Regions from separate parts of the Homo sapiens genome. Here region 2 is linked to region 1. Evidence: promoter capture Hi-C in 16 types of primary human blood cells and fetal thymus (Javierre and others, 2016). All regions are on one chromosome and are shown on one strand. Each heading gives the region's core, a stretch centred on a gene start or on the middle of the fragment in contact. The rest is flanking DNA. Distances are from core to core; before and after follow the strand shown. Region 1 holds the start of SEH1L (SEH1 like nucleoporin). Region 2 holds the start of SPIRE1 (spire type actin nucleation factor 1).

Region 1 (7,276 bases), core at 2,490-4,989:
GACCCTGCCTCTACAAAAAAAATGTTTTAATTGGCCAGGCGTGGTGGCGTGCACTCGTAGTCCCAGCTACTGGAGAGGCTAAGGTGGGAGGATGGCTTGAACCTGGGATGTTGAGGCTGCAACAAGCCAAGATCGCACCACTGCACTCCAGCCTGGGTGACAGAGCCAGACTCTGCCTCAAAAAAAAAGGAAAAAGAAAAAAGAAAAAAAAAATTATACTAAGTGAAATAAACCAAATATAAAAGGGCGAATATTCTATGATTCTATTTATCTGAGGTACCTAGAATATGCAAATTAATAGAAAGCAGTAGAATAGAGGTTACCAGAGGATGGGGTGGCGGAACAGGGTGCTCTTGGGTACAGAGTTTCAGTTTAGGATGATGAAAAGGTTCTGGAGATGGGCAGGGGCGACGCTGCACAAAAATGTGAATGCTGTGCTCTATGCCACTGAATTCTACACTTTAAAACGGTTAACGTGGGCCGGGCGCGGTGGCTCACGCCCGTAATCCTAGCACTTTGGGAGGCCGAGGTGGGCGGATCACGAGGTCAGGAGATAGAGACCATCCTGGCTAACATGGTGAAACCCTGTCTCTACTAAAAAATACAAAAAATTAGCCGGGCGTGGTGGCGGGCGCCTGTAGTCCCAGCTACTTGGGAGGCTGAGGCAGGAGAATGGCGTGAACCCGGGAGGCGGAGCTTGCAGTGAGCCAAGATTGCGCCACCCCACTCCAGCCTGGGTGACAGAGCAAGACTCCGTCTCAAAAAAAAAAAAAAAAAAAAAAAAAAAACGGTTAACGTAGTTTATTACAACAAAAATAAACTTGTTTTAAAAAAGAAACTACATCTTTTAAAAATTGCAACACTATTTATAAAAAGTTTATCTTTGAGAGATCACTGGTATCAAACTCGAATGTGAAAAAGGATAAACTATCCTTCAGATTTCCAGTTACTCTGGAGTTGTCGAGAACCAAATAATCCGCACTCCAGCTTTCATTCATCCTGCAACACATCTGGGAGGTTCCTAAATCTCATGTAGCATCCCCACATTAGAAATTCTGCTTGTAGGCCGGGCGCGGTGGCTCACGCCTGTAATCCCAGCACTTTGGGAGGCCGAGGCGCCGAGGCGGGTGGATCACGAGGTCAGGAGTTCGAGACCAGCCTGGCCCACATGGTGAAACTCTGTCTCTACTAAAAAATACAAAAAAAAAAAAAGATTAGCCGGGGGTGGTGGCGTGCACCTGTAATCCCTGCTACTTGGGAGGCTGGGGCAGGATAATCGCCTGAAAGCGGGAGGCGGACGTTGCAGTGAGCCGAGATCGTGCCATTGCACTCCAGCCTGGGTGACAGAGTGAGACTCGGTCTCAAAAAAAAAAAAAAAAAAAGAAAAGAAATTCTGCTTGTCGGAAGTGTCTACAGACGTTTACGGGAACTTCAAGAAACAAACCCTCCGATTCCTGGGCAGCAAGCAGGGAAATCATTGGATGTAAATGGTTTGTATTTTTCTTCCTCGGCGTAACAAAGTGAGCTTCTGCTCTGAACCCACGGAGAAAACCATGTGCCCTGGTGAGAGAACACCGGCGGGGCACAGAACTCGACGCAGCGCCAGCCAGGCAAAGTCTCCCACCAGGTCCCACTGCAGGTCGTCGGGTGAACAGCGCGGGCAAGACCCACGACGCCGAGGCTGACGGTGGGATGCCCCTGGGTTCCCGCCCGCAGCCCCGGCAGCGCGGCCTGGGAGAGGGCCCGGCGTACCCTGCGGGCGGGAGCGCGCACGTGGCACCAGCTGCGCAGGCGCACGGGAGGGCGGCCCGCGAGGCCGCCGTGACCCCACAATACGCGGGCGGGGAGGGCTTCCGCTCAGTCCAGCCAGGGCTCGCCCGCCACCCCACAGCTTCCAGCGGCGTCACTGAACCAAGACACAGCCCCGTTCCCCGCGCCGCCCACCCACTCCCCTTCCTTCCTTCCGGGGTCGGCCCCGCCCGCAAGCGCCGCGCGCACCTTAACGCTCTGATCGCTGGAGCAGGTTGCCATCCGCCGCCCGTGGAAGTCGAAAGAGACATCGTGGATGAGATCCTTGTGGTCCGCCGCGATGCTGCGAGCCACAAACATGGTTTCCGTCGGGCCCGCGCCTCCGAAGAGGACAGTGGCGGCGGCAGCGGCGGCGGCGCGTGGCCCGTAGCCTAGCCAGACCTCGCAGCCCGGGAGCGCACGGCTTGTGCTGCCCACGCCCCCGCACCGCCCCTGCCTATCAAGCCCCGCCCACACACCCTCCGGTCCTTCAAGCCCCGCCCCACCCACCGGCCCGTCAGGCCCCACACAGTCCCCTGGCCCCTCAAGCCCTGCCCACGCCCCGGCCCGTCATGACTCGCCCCACCTTCCGGTCCCTCAAGCCCCGCCCCGCCCCCAGGCCCGTCAAGCCCCGCCTACCCTCCCACCAGAGCCGTCATGCCTCGCCCCACCCTCCCGCCCCCTCAAGCCCCGCCCTGTTCCCGGCTCGTCAATCCTCGTCCCGCCCCCGGCCCGTCATGCCCTACGATCCTGGTGCGGGTTCCTCCAGGCTCTGACCGTTCGGCGGCGGAGGGTGCTCTGCAAAAGGCGAGTTACCTGTGCTGAGAAGTAGTAAGAGCTTATTGGTATACTGTGCAAATGAAGAAAGATGAAAAAGTGAAGACTGCCTCTCACGGTCCTCGGCCCTGAATCATTTAAGTCGACGTTTGGATGTGTTTCCCCCCAGACACATGCGAGGCGCGCGGAGCAGGTGGAGAAGACGAACCGTGGGTTTGGTCAGGAGCCGCGCTCCGTCGGGACGGCTGAAGAGCAGGGAGGGCCGGGGAGACGCCTGAGGGGATGACAAGCAGTCCAGGCTCGGCAGCCTAAGAGCGAAGGCTGGACGGGGAGGAAAGGATCAGAAGTAGTAGTTTAAATGTGTCAAGATTTTACAGGTAGAACAGGCCTGGGGGTGCTAGGAGCCACCACGGGGGTAGGGAAATAGTATGAATTAGAAGAGTCCGCCTGTAGAAACGTGTCATCCCGGGGGAAGGAAGCGGCCGGGGAAGTGGGCTGCTTGCTACCCGGGAGCCAGAGTCCTCCGGGGAAAAGGAAGTGAAGAGGGCCAGAGCCCCTGGGAAGAGGCCTGGCTCAGATCAAGGATTCTGCCAAAACCGGAAAGTGGAGGAGCCAACGACTCGGGGGGTTTTGCTTATCAGGAAAAGGCATTCTAGAGGGCGTAGTGGTAAAGTTAGGATGGGAGACAGTGGAAGCTTGCGTCAGGGGAGCGAAAGTACAGAAAAAAAAAAAATGAGGCTGCAGAAGGGACTTGCCCTTTGGATTTTGGCCAGGAATGACAAAAATGTGAGGTATGGTAAAATTAGCAGGCTGGAAAGTTTTTTAAATGATTAGTCCCAGCTGTCCCCTGATGGATTGCACAGAAACCTGCAAAGAGAAGTGGCGCAATGACCTGACCTTTTTCAACCATAAATAAGATTTTATTGCTACTTTAAGAGGTGGGCCCCACCTCTTATGATAACTGATAACAACTATAACTTTTTTGAAGGTCAAAGACACTCATTTCCAAAGAAAGTGCTCACTATAAAAGTCCAATCAAAATATATTGATTATTATAAAAATATCAAAACAGTTTAAAAATTGTTTTAATTAAATTTAAATACAGACAGTAAACAGATCATTGGTTGCCAGAGATTATCAGAGTGGGAGTGAAGTGTTGAATTAGGTGAAACAGTGGATTTTTTAAAATAGACTTTAGTTTTTAGAACACTTTCAGGTTCACAGCAAAATTGAGCAGAAAATAGAGTTCCCGTATGTACCCCTACTGTCACACATGCACAGCATCCTCCACTGTCAACATCCCATACCAAAGTGGTACCTTTGTTATGATCAGTGAACCTACATTGACACATCATTATCACCCAAAATTCAGAGTTTGCATTAGGGTTCACTCTTGGTGTTTTATTCTGTGGGTTTTGGCAAATATATAATGACATGGATCCACCATTATAGTATCACGCGGAATAGTTTGACTGCCCTGAAAATCCTTAGTGCTCCTGTTCATCCCTTTCTTCCGACAACACCTGGCAACCGCTGATCTTTCCACTGACTGCATGGTTTTGACTTTTCCAGAATGGCATATAATGGGAATCTTGGAGTGGCTAGCCTTTTCAGATTGGCTTCTTTCCTTATAGTAATATGCATTTAAGCTTTCTCCATGTCTTGTCTTGAGAGTTCATTTCTTTTTAGTGCTGAATAATATTCCATTGTCAGGCTGTAACAGTGTTTATTCATTCCCCAACTAAAGGGCATTCTGGTTGTTTCTGTGTTTGGGCAATTATCAATAAAGCTCCTACAAACATCTGTGTACAGGTTTTTGTGTGGACATGTTCGCAACTCCTTTGGGTAGATACCAAGAAGCATGATTGCTGGATCATATTGTAAGAGTAAGTTTAGTTTTGTTTTTTGGGGTTTTGTTTTGTTTTTTGAGACAGGGTCTCACTCTGTCATGGCAGACAATCGTGGCTCACTGCAGCTTTAAATTCCCTGGGTTCAGATGATCCTCCCACCTCAGCCTCCCGAGCAGCTGGGACTACAGGCACAGTGCCACCACACCCAGCTAATTTTTCTGTTTTTTGCAGAGATGGGGTTTCACCATGTTGAGCAGGCTGGTCTCAAACTCTTGGGCTCAAGCGATCCTCTTGCCTTGGCCTCCCAAAGTGCTTGGATTACAGGCATGAGCCACTGTGCCTGGCCTGGTTTTATAAGAAACTTACAAACTGTCTTCCAAAGTGGTCGTGTCAGCCAGGCCTGGTGGCTAAATTACCCTGTAATCCAGCACTTTGGGAGGCCGAGACGGGCAGATTATCTGAGCTCAGGAGTTCAAGACCAGCCTGGGCAACGTGGCGAGACCCGCTTCTCTACTAAAAATACAAAATAAAAATACAAAAAAATGCCCCAGGAGTGGTGGTGGAACCGAGATTGTGCCACAGGACTCCATCCTGGGCAACGCAGGGAGACACTATCTCAAAAAAAAAAAAAAAAGAGAGAGAGAATTTAACACAGGAAACTGGTTACATATATATCCAAGGGGTTAATTAAGAGCAAAAAGGGAACATGTGAGATTACCCAGAGACTAGTAACTACGGGAAACTCTGGGCTGGGAGCGTGAAAGGGAAAATAGTTTTACCCAGTGCTACCATCATTGACTCTGAGGCTGCTGACATTGGCACCTTTACCACCAGCAGGCAGAAAGCCAGGAGCCAATACTCCAGCTTACACTGCAGGCGTCCAACAGAGTAACAGCCATGGGAGCCCACAAGCTCTGAACAGCTGAGGTTCCTGGAGCCTCTGCTAGTACTGCTGGAGCTAGGGCTGAGTGCTGCTGCTACTGCTGCTGTTCACATCACCCCCGAGCAGGAAGCCAGGCTCACCCATTGCCACCACCACCACTACTCAGCTATGTGAGCTGCCTCCACAAATTGGAGAAAAGGTCTTCTTCCTCCTGCATCTGAATCCCCTACTGTCTCTCAATTCAGAACCTAACTAGAAATAGAGAGCTAATAAGAGTCTGGAAAAACAAGCTTGGAGGTTTCCAGTTCATATTCTGGAAAGAATACGACCTACAGTGAAGGCTGGGCGTGGCAGCTCACACCTGTAATCCCAACATTTTGGGAGGCTGAGGCGGGCAGATCACTTGAGGTCAGGAGTTCAAGACCAGCCTGGCCAACATGGTGAAACCCCGTTTCTACTAAAAATACAAAAATTAGCTGGGCGTGTTGGTGAGCGCCTGTAATCTCAGCTACTCAGGAGGCTGAGGCAGGAGAATCGCTCTAACCCTGGAGGCAGAGGTTGCAGTAAGCTGAGATTGCACCGCTGCACTCCAGCCTGGGCAACAGAGCGAGACTCCATCTCAAAAATATAAATAAATAAATAACCTACAATGAGTTAAGAAGCTTTCACATTTTTTTTCCTGCTCTGCGCCAGTTTAAATAGCATAGGAACTGAAAGATTCCTATGAAGATTTTGTAGAAGATTCCGTGAAGATTTTGTAGATGACGTTCACAAAATTTTATCAGCCTCATGCCTTGGGTGATGATAGGTATAGTTAATTTTAACTACCTTTTAAAATTATTTTATTCATGGCCTCTTCAGATTTTTTACCTTTTGTCAAGACAATTTTGATCATTTATATCTTCCTTTAAAAAATCAGCCATTTTGTGCTGGGCATGGTGGCTCATGCCTGTAATCTCAGCACTTTGTGAGGCCGAAGTAGAAGCATTGCTTGAGCTCAGGAGTTCAAGACCAGCCTGGGCAACATAGTGAGCCCTCGTCTCTACAGAAAACAAATTAGCCAGGTGTGGTGGTGCACGCCTGTATTTCAGCTACTCAAGAGGCTGAGGCAGGAAGAGGATCACTTGAGCCCAGGAGGCAGAGGTTGCAGTGAGCTGAAATCGTGCCACTGCACTCCAGCCTGGGCGACAGAGTGAGACACTGTCTCAAATAAATAAATAATCAGCCATTTCACTGAAATATTTAAACTTATTAATATAGAGTTATATATGTTAATGTCTTGCAATTTCTAAAGTCTCCATATCTGATGTAAGGCTTTTTTTCTTATTTCCATTGCTTTTTGTCTTACTGCCTTTGTCCTTAACATTTTGCTTTTTAATGAAGTATAATATAGATTCCAAAATGTACACGTATCACAAGTGTACACAGCTCACTGGATTTTCACAAACTGAACACATCTGTGCAGCCATCATCACCTCGAAAAAGGGAGCATGACTCACACCCTTAAAGCTCTCCTGTGGTCCCTTCTGGTCTTTACACCCCTCCCCAAGCAGTAACTACCGACCTCCTTCCTAACAGCATAGGTTGGTGTGATGATTAATTTTATGTGTCACCATGGTTAGGCTATGAAGCCCAGTTCTTTGCTCAAACACTAGTCTAGATGTTGCTATAAAGGTATCTTGTAGATGGGATTAACATCTGCAATCAGTTGTGTTCCGTGAAAGGGTCGTATTAATATATACAAAGCGACCCCCAACTGCCGAAGGAGCTGAGAAACCAAAGAAAGAGGCAGACAAATCCAGTTGGTCAGTTTTGGATGATTTATTAGGGGATTATATTTTGGGGGATTTATTAGGGGATTATATTTATTGACTTATTAGGGGAACTTACAGACAGAAGTCTTGGGTCTTGCGGTCTTGAGTGGCTGCAAGACAGGTAGATCTCCACTCCACAACCCCCCAGACACACAGCTTGGGAA
Region 2 (7,276 bases), core at 1,932-4,431, 290 kb after region 1:
CACCCAGGCTGGGGTGCAATGGCGTGATCTCGGCTCACTGCACGCTCCGCCTCCCGGGTTCAAGTGATTCCCCTGCCTCAGCCTCCCGAGTAGCTGGGATTACAGGTGCCTGCCACCATGCCCAGCTAATTTTTGTATTTTTAGTAGAGACAGGTTTTTGCCATGTTGGCCAGGCTGGTCTCGAACTCCTGACCTCAGGTGATCTGCCCGCCTCGGCCTCCCAAACTGCTGGGATTACAGGCGTGAGCCACCATGCCTGGCCAGCTTATCAAAACTTTAAGGAGTACTGAAAATCATTTAGAAGTTAGTAAGTTATAGTCTTTATACAAAAAAGAGTCAAGTGTTCATGTTGTATAACTACACTTAGAAGACAGCTAGGATTTTAAAGATTTTCCTTTATTTTGTGTAGAGAAGAAACATCACACAATATTCTACTTGTCATCTTTCCTCAACTTAATTACATATATGCTCACACAGGCAAAATATTTAAGTATATCATACCATGAATTGTTACTTGGCAATAAAAAAAAAAGCCCTTCTGTTGGATATAACTGTCTTGTGATACAGTGCAGTAATGTCTCCCTCTCAAAATGTGTATATGTTAAAAAAAATCATCACTCAAGGAAAATCCTAGTGTTGCAAATTTGTTTTTAAGAATGTATCTTTTGGCCGGGCACAGTGGCTCACACCTGTAATCCCAGCGCTTTTGGAGGCTGAGGCGGGTGGACCACTGAAGTCAGGAGTTTGAGACCAGCCTGGCCAACATGGTAAAACCCTGTCTTTACTAAAAATACAAAAATTAGCCAGGCATGGTAGCGTGTGCCTGTAATCCCAGCTACTCGGGAGGCCGAGGCACGAGAATCATCTCAACCCAGGAGGCGGAAGTTGCAGTGAGCTGAAATCGCGGCACTGACCCTAGCCTGGGAGACAGGGTGAGACTCTGTCTCAATTAAAAAAAAAAAAAAAATGCATCTTTTTCCATTGATTAGAGGGATGACTAAAAAAAGAAGAATGCATCTTTTAAAAGATAAAGTTTGGATTTCCTTTACTCACTTCCTCCTTCCCTGTATTGTTGTCTTCAAGATTTATTTACTGCTCTATGCCAGGGTTAGCAGGTTAATGGCTCATAGATTCCTCAGTTTATTAACCCATTTATCTTGTTTACTGGTGGGTAAGGCAAAGATAAAAATGTGTTTGGCTGTAGTTGTCCAAGTGCAATGGGCAGCAGTATCCCATAAGGCCAGGAGGTGGTAGTGTTGTCCATAAAAGTAGACCTTCATTTTTTTTCCTGGATTGTTCAAAATATTTTAAACCAGTCTGTATTTGCAAAATCCACACAGGATAAACTTTTGAAATAGCAAAATTTGGGAATGTTTGTCTGTTTTTAATCAAGAGGACAGAGATATATTTATATGTATATAGTGTCACACATAAGGAATTACATGTTTGCCTCTCTGGGCTTTGGCACACATAGATACTGCATTGCTACAAATGAGATTATGAACCTATAATTAAGTGATGCTACTTTAAGGGGTTGTTTTGTCTCTCTCGTACTGAAATTATAATAAGTTGCCTGGGGAGCTTTCTTCTCCTCTTTCAATTTATTATTTATTTTTTTGAGACAGACTCTCGCTCTGTCCCCCAGGCTGGAGTGCAGTGGTGTGATCTTGGCTCATTGCAACTTCCACCTCCCAGGTTCAAGCGATTCTCCTGCCTCAGCCTCCCGGGTAGCTGGGATTACAAGCGTGCGTCACCACACTCGGCTAATTTTCTTTGTATTTTTAGTAGAGACAGGGTTTCCCCATGTTGGCCAGGCTGGTCTCGAACTCCTGACCTCAGTGATCTGCCCGCCTCAGCCTCCCAAAGTGCTGGGATTACAGGCCTAAGCCACTGCGCACGGCCCTCTTTCAATTTCTTAATTTTCCTTTTCGTCCTGTTGCTTTTCTCCCTCCTCCCCATTCCCAGCTGTATGTAAGATGGTATCTCATTTTAATAGACTGTTGTTATTTAAATAGACTGTTGTAGTTTCTACCGCAAGATGCAATTGTTGAGAGCGTGATTTCTAACATTTTACATAAAACTGCCGTAAAAGGTTTACTGGAACTTAATATACATTGCCTATTTGGTTGATGCTTTCAACACTCTGTAGGGCTTTCACACAGGACTAGCCTCAGTGGAATTTTATCGATTAAATTAATCTACCAATGGGTGATTAAGAATTATCTGTTTTATTGCATATTTAATAGGTTGGGGGGGCGGAATTCTTTCTTTCTACGGCTAATTGCCCTCAGTTCAATTTTACCACTGTGATATTCATTCCACATGCTCTGATGAGTGTGGTACTTGAGACATTACCTTAGTGAGGGAAGGGACCAATGTTACAAATGAATCCGGAAGGACGCTAAAACTAACACCTGCAAATTATGTACATGTTTATATTCCAGGCGCTGGTTTAGCTTTTGGGAGAAGTCAGTGAGGAAAACCCGTAAAGATCCCCGTCTTTACGGTGCTTACCCTGAAGATGGGAGTGGAGAGGGAGGTATTCAACCAGCAAGAAATCGGAAAACGCGCAGAGCGGCCGCGGGGTCACGGGAAACTGCCGGAGGCTTTCAGGGCCCAGGGCCCGGCGGGGAGGCTTCAGCGGGCCTGCATTTTCTTAGGCATCCGCTCCAGGCGGGTTCAAGTTTTCAACCAGACCTTCGGCGATCCAGCGCCTAGGGAACGTCAATGCGGGTGACTTCTCCCGCTGTGCAGGGCGGTGACCCGGGTTGGCGCGCCCAGTTCCCCGCCAGAGTCGGCCGGGGACTTCCCTGATAAATGCGACACCCTCTTGCCCCTGCGCCCCCCGACCGCGCGCCCGGCCCCGCGTGTCCCCCACGCCCCACAACCCTGCACGCCCTACCCGGCCGCGCATCCCCTCCGGACCGTGCGTCGCCGCCCTCACCATTGCGCCCCCAGCTGTGTGTCCCTTGCGACCGGGCCCCCCGACCGGGCGTCACCGCCTGCGACTCTGAGAGCCCTGCGGGCTAGAGACCGTGCGGCCATCTCGCCTCGAGGCGAGGCCCTCCTGCCTGGTCCTCACCTCCAGAGCGTGCATCCCCCGGCCCGTGCGGCCCCCTAAGGGGCGGGCGCTGGGCGGCGCTGGACGGCGCGAGGCGGGGCGGGGCGGGGCGGGGCGCCGGACGCCATCGCGTCGCTACCGGCCGGCGGCTGTCTGACCGGGACTGCAGCCGTGTCCTCGCCGCCCTCCTCTTGCCCACGCCTCCCGGGCACTCGCCTGGTCCCGGCGGCGGCGCGCGCGGCCGCGTTGGGCGGCGGCGGTTCCGGGGATGGTGAGGCGGCGGCGCGCGACGACGATGCTCCGGAGCTGAGGAGACGCCGGCACACGGCGCGACTGCCGAGCGCAGCGCCCACCCGCGGGATGGCTCAGGCGGCTGGCCCGGCGGGCGGCGGGGAGCCGCGGACTGAGGCAGTGGGCGGCGAGGGGCCGCGGGAGCCCGGGGCAGCCGGCGGCGCGGCCGGGGGCTCCCGGGACGCGCTGAGCCTGGAGGAGATCCTGCGGCTGTACAACCAGCCCATCAACGAGGAGCAGGCGTGGGCCGTGTGCTACCAGTGCTGCGGTTCCCTGCGCGCCGCCGCCCGCCGCCGCCAGCCCCGCCACCGTGTGCGCTCGGCCGCGCAGATCCGCGTCTGGAGGGACGGCGCCGTCACCCTGGCGCCCGCGGCCGACGACGCGGGAGAGCCGCCCCCAGTTGCGGGTGAGGCCGCCGGGCCCCTTTCCCTCGTAGTTCTTGGAACACCCGCGGCTGGGCCGCCTTACCCTCAGCGTCCCCGGCCCTTCCGCCCCCGCCGTCCCCCCCCATTTTGCCACGGGAGACCCCCGGGAGGATCCGGCGGGGACCCGCAGGGGAGGACGGCGTCAGGCCGTGGCTGGCCGGGGCCCCTCGGAGGTCAGAGCCTCGTGGCGGGCGACGGCGCAAATCCGCTGTGCGGAGGACGTTTGGGTGGGCCTGGGCCTGCGGGCCGCGGGGCGCTCGTCATTGTGCTGCCCGCGGGACAGCTGCCCGCGGCGCGTTTGGGAGCGGTGGGCTGGGCCCTGCTCCGGGCCAGCGGCCTGTGCGCCTCACGCCGTGGCTGCTGACACACGGCCGGGTTCACGGGGTGGGGAGGGCATCGCAGGCTTCACGCGGGGGCTCCGCACGGATCCTCAGTGCCGCTGTCGGAAACACCGCACTCCTCACGGGAAACTAGCAGTATTCCACATTAGACAGCCTTTCCTCGGTTCGGAAATGTAAAGATGATTCTGAACCGTGAGAATTCTGCTCTTTGGGGAGAAATGGAAAAATAGACTAAATAGTGATTTTTGGCTCCTGGACGTTAGAAAATACTGATTGCATTCCTGTATGTGAAAATTTGTTGTGATGAAAAACAGGCTTGTAAAGTGAAAAGTTGACAGGATGTCGGGATACAAAGAGAAAATGGGCCTTAGTTACGTCATTGTCTAATGTAAAATTTTCAGGATTATGACCTAAACAGTAATTTATAGCCAGGGTTTACTCAGATGCTCATTGAAGAGGAGGAGGAGGTTGAGAAAAGGTTTCTCCCATCAGTTTTTATCTAATTCATTCTTTTGAGAGGCAAGTCTATTAAAAACATAGAAAAACAATCTACCCTCACTTTTAGAAAGTTGATGGAAATGTCAAAATGCTTAAGGTGAAAGATGTAATTTCGAATTAGTAAAATGACATTTAATGAAAACCCTTGTCTAACTTGATTAAAACAATATTCAAGGTTATAGTTATTCTTTCAGTTCCACCAGAACGTTTTTATCTTTTATTTTTTAGTGTCAGGTAAACACATTTTTATTTACATGCTTTTATCTTTTATTTTTTAGCGTCAGGTAAACGATTTTTTATTTAAAGCCATCTTTTTAATTGTTCTTTTGAAACTATTTCAAATAGTATTTTTGTTTCTTTGATGGGCTTATTGCTTTTAAACTTGGACTTAATCTTAGTGGGAAATACTTGCAATTATAATTTATAGTGTATTAAATGGTACAAAAGATACATTTATAAAATACAGCAATGTCTGCCAGGTGCGGTGGCTCAAGCCTGTAATCCCAGCACTTTGGGATGCCGAGGCAGGTGGATCACCTGAGGTCAGGAGTTCGAGACCAGCCTGGCCAACATGGTGAAACCCCGTCTCTATTAAAAATACAAAAATTAGCCGGGCGTGGTGTTGTGCCGCTGGAATACCAGCTACTCGGGAGGCTGAGGTGGGAGAATTGCTTGAACCTGGGAGGTGGAGGCTGTAGTGAGCTGAGATCGCGCCACTGCACTCCAGCCTGGGTGACAGAGCGAGACGCCGTCTCAAAAAAAAATACAGCAATATCGTGCCTTGGGATTTAGCTATTTCCAGAGGAAAAATGGTTGTGTGCAGCCTGCTTTTAGAAGCAGCGTTGGTAGTGGTGATTTCCGGAGAGAACAAGCCCCCAGTTTACATTGTCTTGTCACTTAAATTTAATCCCAAAATCGTGTAGTTTTGTTGTCAAAGATTGATAGATTCTCGTGGATGGGTTTTTTCTTTTTTTTTGGTCTGAATCTTATGTTGAATTGGATTATTTTTTACATCACTAGTGTGAGTGATAACATGTTGATCTCAGTGTAATAAACTGCCTTTATGGAGAAAATAGTGAGTGGAGTTGTTCTCCACAATTCGCAATAGGTTTATAATTCTCTTTCTCAGTTCTGCTCATGACCTGCGCTACCAGTTATGGAGGAGGCCTAATCAAAGTTGTTGATAGAGACTTGAGCATTTTCTGTTGCCTAAAATTATTTAAGAAGTTCATACTAAAACATTAGTTTATTTCCTCATTGGCTTTAAGAATAGTTGCGTGGCTCAGGAAGATACAGTCTTCTGAAGATTTTATCTTGATTCTTACACTTGATGAATAATTTGGTGGTGTGCACACTTAAAAATTCTATTCCTTCCTTCTTTCTTTCGCTTTATTTCTTTCTCTTTCTCTCTCTCTCTCTCTTTTTCTTTTCTTCTTTTTTTTTTTTGACAGGGTCTTGCTGTATTGCCCAGGCTGCTGAAGGCTGGAGTGCAGTGCTGTAGTCATAGCTCATTGCAGCCTGGAACTCCTGGGCTTAAGTGATCCAACTGCCTTGGCCTGCTAAAGTGCTGGGGTTACAGGTGTAACCCACCTTGCCCAGTCTCTCTTTTCTTTTTCTTTTCTTTTCTTTCTTTCTTTTTTTTTTTGAGATGGAGTCTCCCTCTGTTGCCAGGCTGGAGTGCTGTAGAACAGTCTTGGCTCACTGCAACCTCTGCCTCCTGAGTTCAAGTGATTCTCTTGCCTCAGCCTCCCGAGCAGCTGGGACTATAGGCGCATGCCACCACGCCCAGCTAATTTTTGTATTTTTGGTAGAAATGGGGTTTCGCCATGTTGGCCAGGATGGTCTTGATCTCTTGACCTCATGATCCGCCTGCCTCGGCCTCCCAAAGTGCTGGGATTGCAGGCGTGAGCCACTGCGCCTGACTTCTCGTTTCAGTTTTAAGGAACGTTTGTATTCATGAGACTTCCATTGTAGGGAAGAGTTGGGGAAAATAAGTAAAAATAATTTTTTTTTTTTTGAGACGGAGTCTCGCTCAGTCGCCCAGGCTGGAGTGTGGTGGCGCGATCTCAGCTCACTGCAAGCTTGCAAGCTCCGCCTCCCAGGTGCATGCCATTCTCCTACCTCAGCCTCCCGAGTAGCTGGGACTAAAGATGCCTGCCACCATGCCTGGCTAATTTTTTTGTATTTTTAGTAGAGACGGGGTTTCACCATGTTAGCCAGGATGGTCTCGATCTCCTGACCTCGTGATCCGCCCGTCTCGGCCTCCCAAAGTGCTGGGATTACAGGCGTGAGCCACCGTGCCCAGCCAAATTTTTTTTTTTTTTTTTTTTTTTTTGAGGTGGAGTCTCACTTTGTCGCCCAGGCTGGAGTGCAGTGGTGCAGTCTCGGCTGACTGCAACCTCCGCCTCCAGGGTTCAAGCAATTCTCCTACCTCAGCCTCCCAAGTAGCTGGGATTACAGGTGTGTACCACCATGCCCAGCTAATTTTTGTATTTTTAGTAGAGAAGGGTTTTCACCATGTTGGCTGAGCTGGTCTCAAACTCCTGACCTCAGGTGATCCACCCGCCTCAGCCTCCCACAGTGCTGGGATTACAGAAGTGAGCCACGGTGCCTGGCCACACTTTCTTTTTCATTGTATTTATCATGATTATATGTAGTTA

What was found. The method cuts DNA at HindIII sites, captures the fragments that hold promoters and counts their contacts. A CHiCAGO score of 5 or more calls a contact.
Region 2: the fragment with the promoter of SPIRE1 here is called in contact with a fragment that was not itself captured in region 1 in 1 of 17 cell types (monocytes); the score reaches 5.3 in monocytes.

Annotation. Positions count from the first base shown.
Region 1 is chr18:12,942,955-12,950,230 of GRCh38, reverse strand. SEH1L (SEH1 like nucleoporin) reads right to left here and starts at 2,220. Exons shown (of 9, transcript NM_001013437.2): 1 at 1,999-2,220. The coding sequence starts at 2,109. RefSeq lists an enhancer at 1,040-1,641 and silencers at 1,573-1,672, 1,683-2,032, 2,073-2,522. The HindIII fragment of the contact is 954 bases long and covers 3,263-4,216 here.
Region 2 is chr18:12,654,012-12,661,287 of GRCh38, reverse strand. It overlaps SPIRE1 (spire type actin nucleation factor 1), which reads left to right and starts at 3,181. Exons shown (of 17, transcript NM_001128626.2): 1 at 3,181-3,758. The coding sequence starts at 3,422. It also overlaps a transcript of PSMG2 not described here. RefSeq lists silencers at 2,722-2,871, 2,922-2,991, 2,994-3,162, 3,032-3,451, 3,642-3,761. The HindIII fragment of the contact is 7,532 bases long and covers 1-6,699 here.